2 separate regions of the Homo sapiens genome follow, and region 1 is linked to region 2. Evidence: promoter capture Hi-C in 16 types of primary human blood cells and fetal thymus (Javierre and others, 2016). All regions are on one chromosome and are shown on one strand. Each heading gives the region's core, a stretch centred on a gene start or on the middle of the fragment in contact. The rest is flanking DNA. Distances are from core to core; before and after follow the strand shown. Region 1 has its middle 13 kb from the start of ODF4. Region 2 holds the start of AURKB (aurora kinase B).

Region 1 (3,471 bases), core at 85-2,584, 120 kb before region 2:
TTAATGACCTATAGAACTGAAAAATCCAGGCTGGTCTCAGTGGCTCGTGCCTGTAATCCCAGCACTTTGTAAGGCCCAGGCGGGCAGATCGCCTGAGGTCAGGAGTTTGAGACCAGCCTGGCCAACATGGTGAAACTTCATTTCTACTAAAAATACAAAAATTAGTGGGGCATGATCGCAGGCGCCTGCAATCCCAGCTACTCAGGAGGCTGAGACAACAGAATCACTTGAACCCAGGAGGCAGAGGTTGCAGTGAGCCAAGATCATGCCATTGCACTCCAGCCTGGGTGACAGAGTGTGACTCCATCTAAAAAAAAAAAAAAAAAAAAAAAATTAGCTGGGCATGGTGGCGCATGCCTGTAGTCCCAGCTACTAGAGAGGCTGAAGTATGAGAATAGCTTGAACCTAGGAGGCAGAGGGTTGCAGTGGGCCGAGATCGTGCCACTTCCTTCCAGCCTGGGCAACAGTGCGAGATCCTGCCTCAAACAAACAAACAAACAAAAATAACTGAAAAATCAAGATAAAAGCTTCAGATGAGACTTGATCCTGGAACTCAAGTGATGATAACAAGGACCTGGCTTTCCCCTTGTCTCTCCATTTCCAGTTTTGTGGTGTTGGCTCCTTCATCAGGCTGTATCCAGTGGCCTCCCCAGCAACTCCAAGCTGCCTCTCACTGCACTAAAATGGCAGCCACTGATCCAAACCTTATATCCTCACACTGCAATGTCCAGGGGAAGAGAGAATGGCTCATTCAAGTGGCTCTTGGGTGGGTCTCGAATTAACTGTCTCTGAACTCATTGATCCAAATTGGGACACATACCCATCTCGACCCAATCACAATAACCAAGGGTTGTCGTAAATCAAGGAAGAGTAGCTGGGCGCAGTGCCTCCCCTGTAATCCCAGCACTTTGGGAGGTCGATGGGGGTAGATCATGAGGTCAAGGGTTCAAAACCAGCCTGGCCATATGGTGAAGCCCCGTCTCTACTAAAAATATAAAAAATTAGCCGAGTGTGGTGGCGCACGCCTGTAGTCCCAGCTACTCGGGAGGCTGAGGCAGGAGAATCGCTTGAACCCAGGAGGCGAAGGTTGCGGTGAGCCGAGGTCACGCCACTGCACTCTAGACTGGGTGACAGTGTGAGACTCCGTCTAAAACAAAAACAACAACAACAACTCAGGGTCACTTTCAAATCCAATTTTTAGTCAATATTTTGTATTCTTTATTGTTAAGGTTCCCCAAAAGTCTGGATTCAATCCCAACGCTTTCTCACAGAGGGCAGCTTCAGGTTTCTAACAGTGGACGGAGTGAGAGAGGCTTCGGGTCAGCGGTGGTTGTGAGGCAGTTTGGGCGCAGCCCACGGCTTCATGCCCCGCGGCGGGGGCACGTGCAGGCACCAGCTTGAAAAACTCCATCGGGCGTGGAGCTGACCCATTCGGGTCCGAAGCCAAACCTAGTCGGATCAAGCAGCTGAACGCAGGCCCCGGGACCTGGTGACTGCCGTTGCGACCTCGAGAGTGCTGCGGGTGGGTGGGAAGGAGGAGTGGCTAGCTCTGGGGACGTCGGGCAGTGTTCTGAACAGCGGGAGCCAGTGCCTCAACTTCCCCAGGATTCTTCCGCGGGAGCAGCCCACTCCCATACTCCGCCCCGCGTGGGAGGCGAGCGCTGAGAACCAGGAGACACAGCCAGGCCAGGAGACCCCAGAGTCCAGCCAGAAGACGTGCTGAGACCCCGCTGCAGGAAGCCCTATGGCCGCGCTGCGCTCACTCACTGAGTCCGGGTCTCCGGCAGAGAGACAGGGGCAGCCCCGCGGGAGGGGCGGGCGCGGGGCCAGAGCGGGGCCTGGCCACGTCCGGGAGGATGAACGGAGCCCCGCTAAGGTCGGGAGGACTTCGAGGAGCTCCAGCGCTCTGTTCCCCTTGGTGTCGCCCGAGGCTGATGGAGGGTGGTGAGACCGTGGCTTGGAGACGACGTGCTGGGGAGCAAGGTCGGGAGCCCGCCAGGCTCGCGGTGGAGCTGTCGCTGGAGAGGCACTGCTGCACCGGGACGGTGGGCTGGTGGGCTGGCCACCCTGGAGAACCTGAGCCTGCAGTTACCTCTGTAGCTGAACCTGCGAGTATGGAGGGTTTAGGAAAGAGAAGCTTTCCGAGATGGCTGGAGAGCCAGCCAGGCTGAAGGGCTCCGGAAAGGATCACAGGAAGTGGGCTGGAGGGTTCCTTGCGGGTGGAAGGAGGAGGAGAGAGCTAGTGAGCAGGCTTGGGGGCCGGGGCGTGGGGGGAAGAGGGCGAGGCTCCTCTCTTTCCTCTGTTGCTTGTGGGCATGATTGCAACCCCCACCCCCGTTTATCTGCGATGTTGGCCACTAAGATCTTGACCCGGAGCCCACAGAAGGCCAGCTCAAAGAGAGGCCCGTGCCCTTTACTATCTGCCTTATCTTGTAGGAAAAGAAAAACTTTTTATCTGAGGGGGGCAAGGCTTTTAAAATTATCAGGCCCATAGAGAGGATCGCTTGAGCCCAGGAGTTCCAGACCAGCCTGGGCAACATGGCAAAACGCCGTCTCTACAAAAAATACAGAAATTAGTCGGGTGTGTTGGCTCCTGCCTGTGGTCCCAGCTACTCAGGAAGCTGAGGCAGGAGGATCGCTTGAGCCCAGGAGCTCGAGGCTGCAGTGAGCCAAGATCGTGCCACTGCACTCCCGCCTGGGTGACAAAGCCAAATCTTGTGACAAAAAAAAAAAAAAAAATCAGGGCCAGAGAGGAATTAAAATGAGACAACAGTGACATCCCATTACCCCCTTTGAGCTAGGTATTCACCTCTTTAACTGCTTGCATTGGCTTGCTCTTGCCATAAGTAGCTATGAATTAACCTGGTAATGCCACACTGGACACTATAACCCACCCCCTATAGCTTAACAGTATATAGCCAATCACTAATCAAAGAGCTTCCTTTAAACCAATGAGAATTCCTAACAACTTTGTATCAGCCCACAGCCCACTCCCTGTCCCCCTTTTTTGCCTTTGAAAACCTGCTTGTAACAAAGCCCTAATGGAGCTCATATCCAAGGTTACTTGGGTCTGAGTCTTCCTGGCAGCCGTCCTCCCTTTGTCTTTCGTTTGTTTTTTGTTTTTTGAGACAGAGTCTCGCTCTTGTCACCCAGGCTGGAGTGCAATCACGCGATCTTGGCTCACTGCAACCACTGTCTCCTGGGTTCAAAGGATCCTCCTGCCTCAGCCTCCCGAGTGGCTGGGATTACAGGCGGGCACCACGACACCCGGCTAATTTTTTGTATTTTTAGTGGAGACGGGGTTTCACCATGTTGGCCAAGCTGGTCTCAAAGTCATGACCTCAGGTGATCCACCTGCCTCGACCTCCCAAAGTGTTGGGATTACAGGCGTGAGCCACCATGCCCGGCCCCCTTGGGCTCAAGTAAACTCTTTCAACCATATTTTGTGCCTCAGCCTCTTCCTTTTAGGTT
Region 2 (3,845 bases), core at 1,186-3,685:
AGTAACGGGGTTTCACCATGTTGCCCAGGGTGGTCTTGAACTCCTGAGCTCAGGCAATCCACCCTCCTTGGGCTCCTGAAGTGCTAGGATTACAGACATGAGCCACTGCGCCCTGCCCATTTTTTGTTTTTATTGAGACAGGGTGTCACTCTAATGTCGGGGCTGGAGTGCAGTGGTGCAATCATGGCTCACCACAGCCTTGACCTCCGGCCTCTGCTGATCCTCCTGCCTCAGCCTATCAAGTAGCTTGGACTAGAGGCACACACTACCATACTGGCTAATTTTTTTTTTTTTTATTTGTAGAGACGGGGTTTCACAGGTTGCCCAGGCTGATCTTAAACTCCTGGGCTCAAGTGATACAGCCGCCTTAGCCTCCCAAAGTGCTGGGATTACAGGCGTGAGCCGCCAAGCCTAGCCATGGTTTGTTTTTTCTACACAATATGCTTAAACAGCAAATAGCATTTAGAATGCATTCAGAAAGGATATTAGCTGAATAATAATCTTCTCTATTGTTCATGTAAGAAAAGTGCTAACGTAGGCATGTAGAGGCTCAACAATGTCATCAAGTCCTGAAGTTCTTTCCAGGCCTCTCTTCTGCCTTCTGCAATGTTAGGCTTCAATGTCAAGCTGCTTCCTTCAGTAGCACTAGAAGCAGCAATGAGGGCTGCATGCTTCCCTGCTCACTTCCAGAAATCTCTTCCTCCATACCTTGCCCTATACATCTTTTCATCTATATCATTTGTAATACACTTTATGATAAACCAGTAAACGTTAAGTGTTTCCTTGAGCTGCCCAGCATTCTGAGCAAGAAACTGATTCCCACTAGCTGGCCCACTTAAATCACAGGCTTATGCCTGATCCAATAACCATAATCTGGAATAAAAGGTATTGATTAGTATAAGTTAATTGGGGCTCATTTCTGGACCTGCAATGAAGTCAGTTTCCTTCTCAAATCCTCAAAACTCTAAGTGCTTTCAGAAGTGGGAATAAAGCTGGGCGCAGTGGCTCACGCCTGTAATCCAAGCACTTTGGGAGACCAAGGCGGGCGGATCACCTGAGGCCAGCCTGAGCAATGTGATGAAACCCCGTCTCTACTAAAAATACAAAAATTAGCCGGGCGTGGTCACATGCACCTATAATCCTAGGTACTCGGGAGGCTGAGACAGGAGAATCAGTTGCACCCTGGAGGAGGAGGTTGTGGTGAGCTGAGATTGTGCCATTGCACTCCAGCCTGGGCAACACAGCGAATCTTCATCTCAAAAAAAAAAAAAAAAGTGAGATTTAAATAGGTCTTCATCAACCTAGGGATTTGGGGTTGTCAGCAACAGAAACTACTACAGAAACCGACTGCATAGACTGGAGAGACAGGTGGTCCCCTAAAGGAAAAATAGAGTGTTAGAAGAAAGGAGAAGAGTGCTGGACAGTACATACTTAATAAATATCCACTGGTTATTTCATAGAAGGCCCAAAAATGTATTTATTTAACCCAGTAATGAAATCTGAGGGTTAGGAAGAGCAGAAAAGAAGGAAGTGTGGCAGGAAGGAGGAAAAATGAAAGTGGGCCCAAACAACACGGCAGCTAACAGAGATCTTGCAACGAAAGGTCTATTGGTGGAAAAACTCCTCCCAGGAATGTCAGAACTTTTAAGAACGACATAGTAATGACACAAGAATAAACACACAGGCAAATGAGCAAACAACGGAATACAAAGTCTAGAAATAGACACAAGTAAATATGCTAACATTATATATCAAGGGCAGCATTTAAATTCTGTTGGGGCAGTTTGTTTAACAAATGGTGTTGACATAACTGGCGCTCCATCGGGCAGAGAAGTTAGACCCCAGCTCATACATGCATAAGGATAAACTCCAGTTACATTAAAGATTTAATTTTTTTTATAAAAAGAAGAAGGCCGGGCACGGTGGCTCACGCCTGTAATCCCAGCATTTTGGGAAGCCGAGGCGGGTGGATCACCTGAGGACAGGAGTTCGAGACCAGATTGGCCAACACAGCGAAAACCCGTCTCTAATAAAAATACAAAAATTAGCCAGGCGTGGTGGCGGGCGCTTGTAATCCCAGCTACTCGGGTGGCTGAGGCACGAGAATCGCTTGAACCCGGGAGGCAGAGGTTGCAGCAAGCCCAGATAGCACCATTATACTCCAGCCTGAGCGACAGAGAGAGACCTGTCTCAAAAAAGGAAAAAAAAAAAGAAAAGAAAAAGCAAGATAATTCACTGGGGGAATTTGGGGAAACTTTCCTAAACTGGAAGCCAAGCGTGAGCCCTTCTCATTCCGCCTCTTCCATTGGGTTCCCATGACTTACGTCACAGGACATCGAGCCAATGGGAACTAGGCATGGGCGACGAGCTTGCCCAATGGGGCCGGGGCGGGAGATTTGAAAAGTCCTTGGCCAGGGCGCGGCGTGGCAGATTCAGTTGTTTGCGGGCGGCCGGGAGAGTAGCAGTGCCTTGGACCCCAGGTGAGCTGGCCTCCTGTCGCAGGCCTTGCGCCGGGAGTGGGCAGATGATCAGGTAGATCAGAGGGTCCGTTGGGCTGGCCTGCGCGCACGCCGCAGGGCTGGAAGGAGGTAGGGACGATAGCAGGGCGGGGGCGGTGAGACCAGCGCCCAGATTGGGGCTAGTGTGCTGACCTGCTCCCTTTTACCAGCTCGGGCTAGCGCTTCCGGCTCGATCGGTCCAACCCCTCCCTCTCTCTCTCTTTTTCTCTGCTTCTCACGGCTGTTTCCCTTCTCCGCCCAGCTCTCCTCCCCCTTTCTCTCTAAGGATGGCCCAGAAGGAGAACTCCTACCCCTGGCCCTACGGCCGACAGACGGTAAGGCCCTTCCCTCCGTCCCTGCGCCCCCATGACCCCGCATGGCGAGTTCCTGCTGGGAAACTTGAGATCCTGCAATGAGCAATCCTTTAAGCACTTTCTTCCCCGTTATGCTCCAAAGTACGGGTCCCAAGTTTGACGACAGAACCCGCTCTGGTCATTTGTAGCCACATCCTGTCAGGTGCTGCCAACGTGAATCTGACCAGCCAGTGACTCCCAGCTGGTGAGGACCTCTGCAGGGCTCGTCACATACAAATGATATCTGGGACTGAGCAGGCAGGGCCTGGCCTTCAGGCCATGATTCCCAATCCATATCCTGAAAAAAAAAAAACTAGACAGCAAATAGAAATAGACTCTAAAAGGATATAAAGTTACAGTTTAAAAGGCCCAGGGCAAGTCTAAATTACAATTTGGAATTAATGACTAAATTGAGGTAAGAATCTAAATGGATCTAAATTGACTTATTTCCCAATGGTCCAGACAGATTTCATTGAAGGGCCTCCTCTCTGATTTGAAATGCCACCTTTATTATATATATAAATTCCCACATATATGTGGGTCTATTTCTGGACTGTATTTTATTCAACTTGCTTATTTGTAGATTGGTACCAATATCACTATTTGGGGCCTAGGGGCTTTCTTCTCTTGGCTGCAGAAGAAGGAAGGGGCCCTGCACAGGCTTTGCTCCCTGTTTTTGGAGCTCTTGCTTCCTGGAGAGTCTGTCTGTTCCCTTGTACATCAGCTCCCTCCCTCATGGAGCACTGAGTGAGGCTGTCAGGAATGGAGTCTGAATGAGAAACCATTGTCACTTTTACCTTAGTCACTCCTAAAAGAAAATGTACCTATTATTTTGAGAGTTGAAAGTGAGGCCAGGTAGGTGGCTCACGCCTGTAATCCCAGCACTGGGAGGCTGAGGCAGGTGGATCACCTGAGGTCAGGAGTTCGAGACCAGCCTGGCCAACATGGTAAAACCCCGTCTCTACTAAAAATACAAAAATTAGCCAGGCATGTG

Evidence for each region. The method cuts DNA at HindIII sites, captures the fragments that hold promoters and counts their contacts. A CHiCAGO score of 5 or more calls a contact.
Region 1: a fragment that was not itself captured here is called in contact with the fragment with the promoter of AURKB in region 2 in 1 of 17 cell types (megakaryocytes); the score reaches 5.5 in megakaryocytes.

The regions. Positions count from the first base shown.
Region 1 is chr17:8,325,452-8,328,922 of GRCh38, reverse strand. No RefSeq gene overlaps it. Among named protein-coding and RNA genes, the nearest start is that of ODF4, 13 kb to the left of the region's middle. The HindIII fragment of the contact is 1,610 bases long and covers 530-2,139 here.
Region 2 is chr17:8,209,165-8,213,009 of GRCh38, reverse strand. AURKB (aurora kinase B) reads left to right here and starts at 2,435. Exons shown (of 9, transcript NM_004217.4): 1 at 2,435-2,480; 2 at 2,761-2,833. The coding sequence starts at 2,786. RefSeq lists enhancers at 2,933-2,982, 2,544-3,203. The HindIII fragment of the contact is 9,276 bases long and covers 1-3,845 here.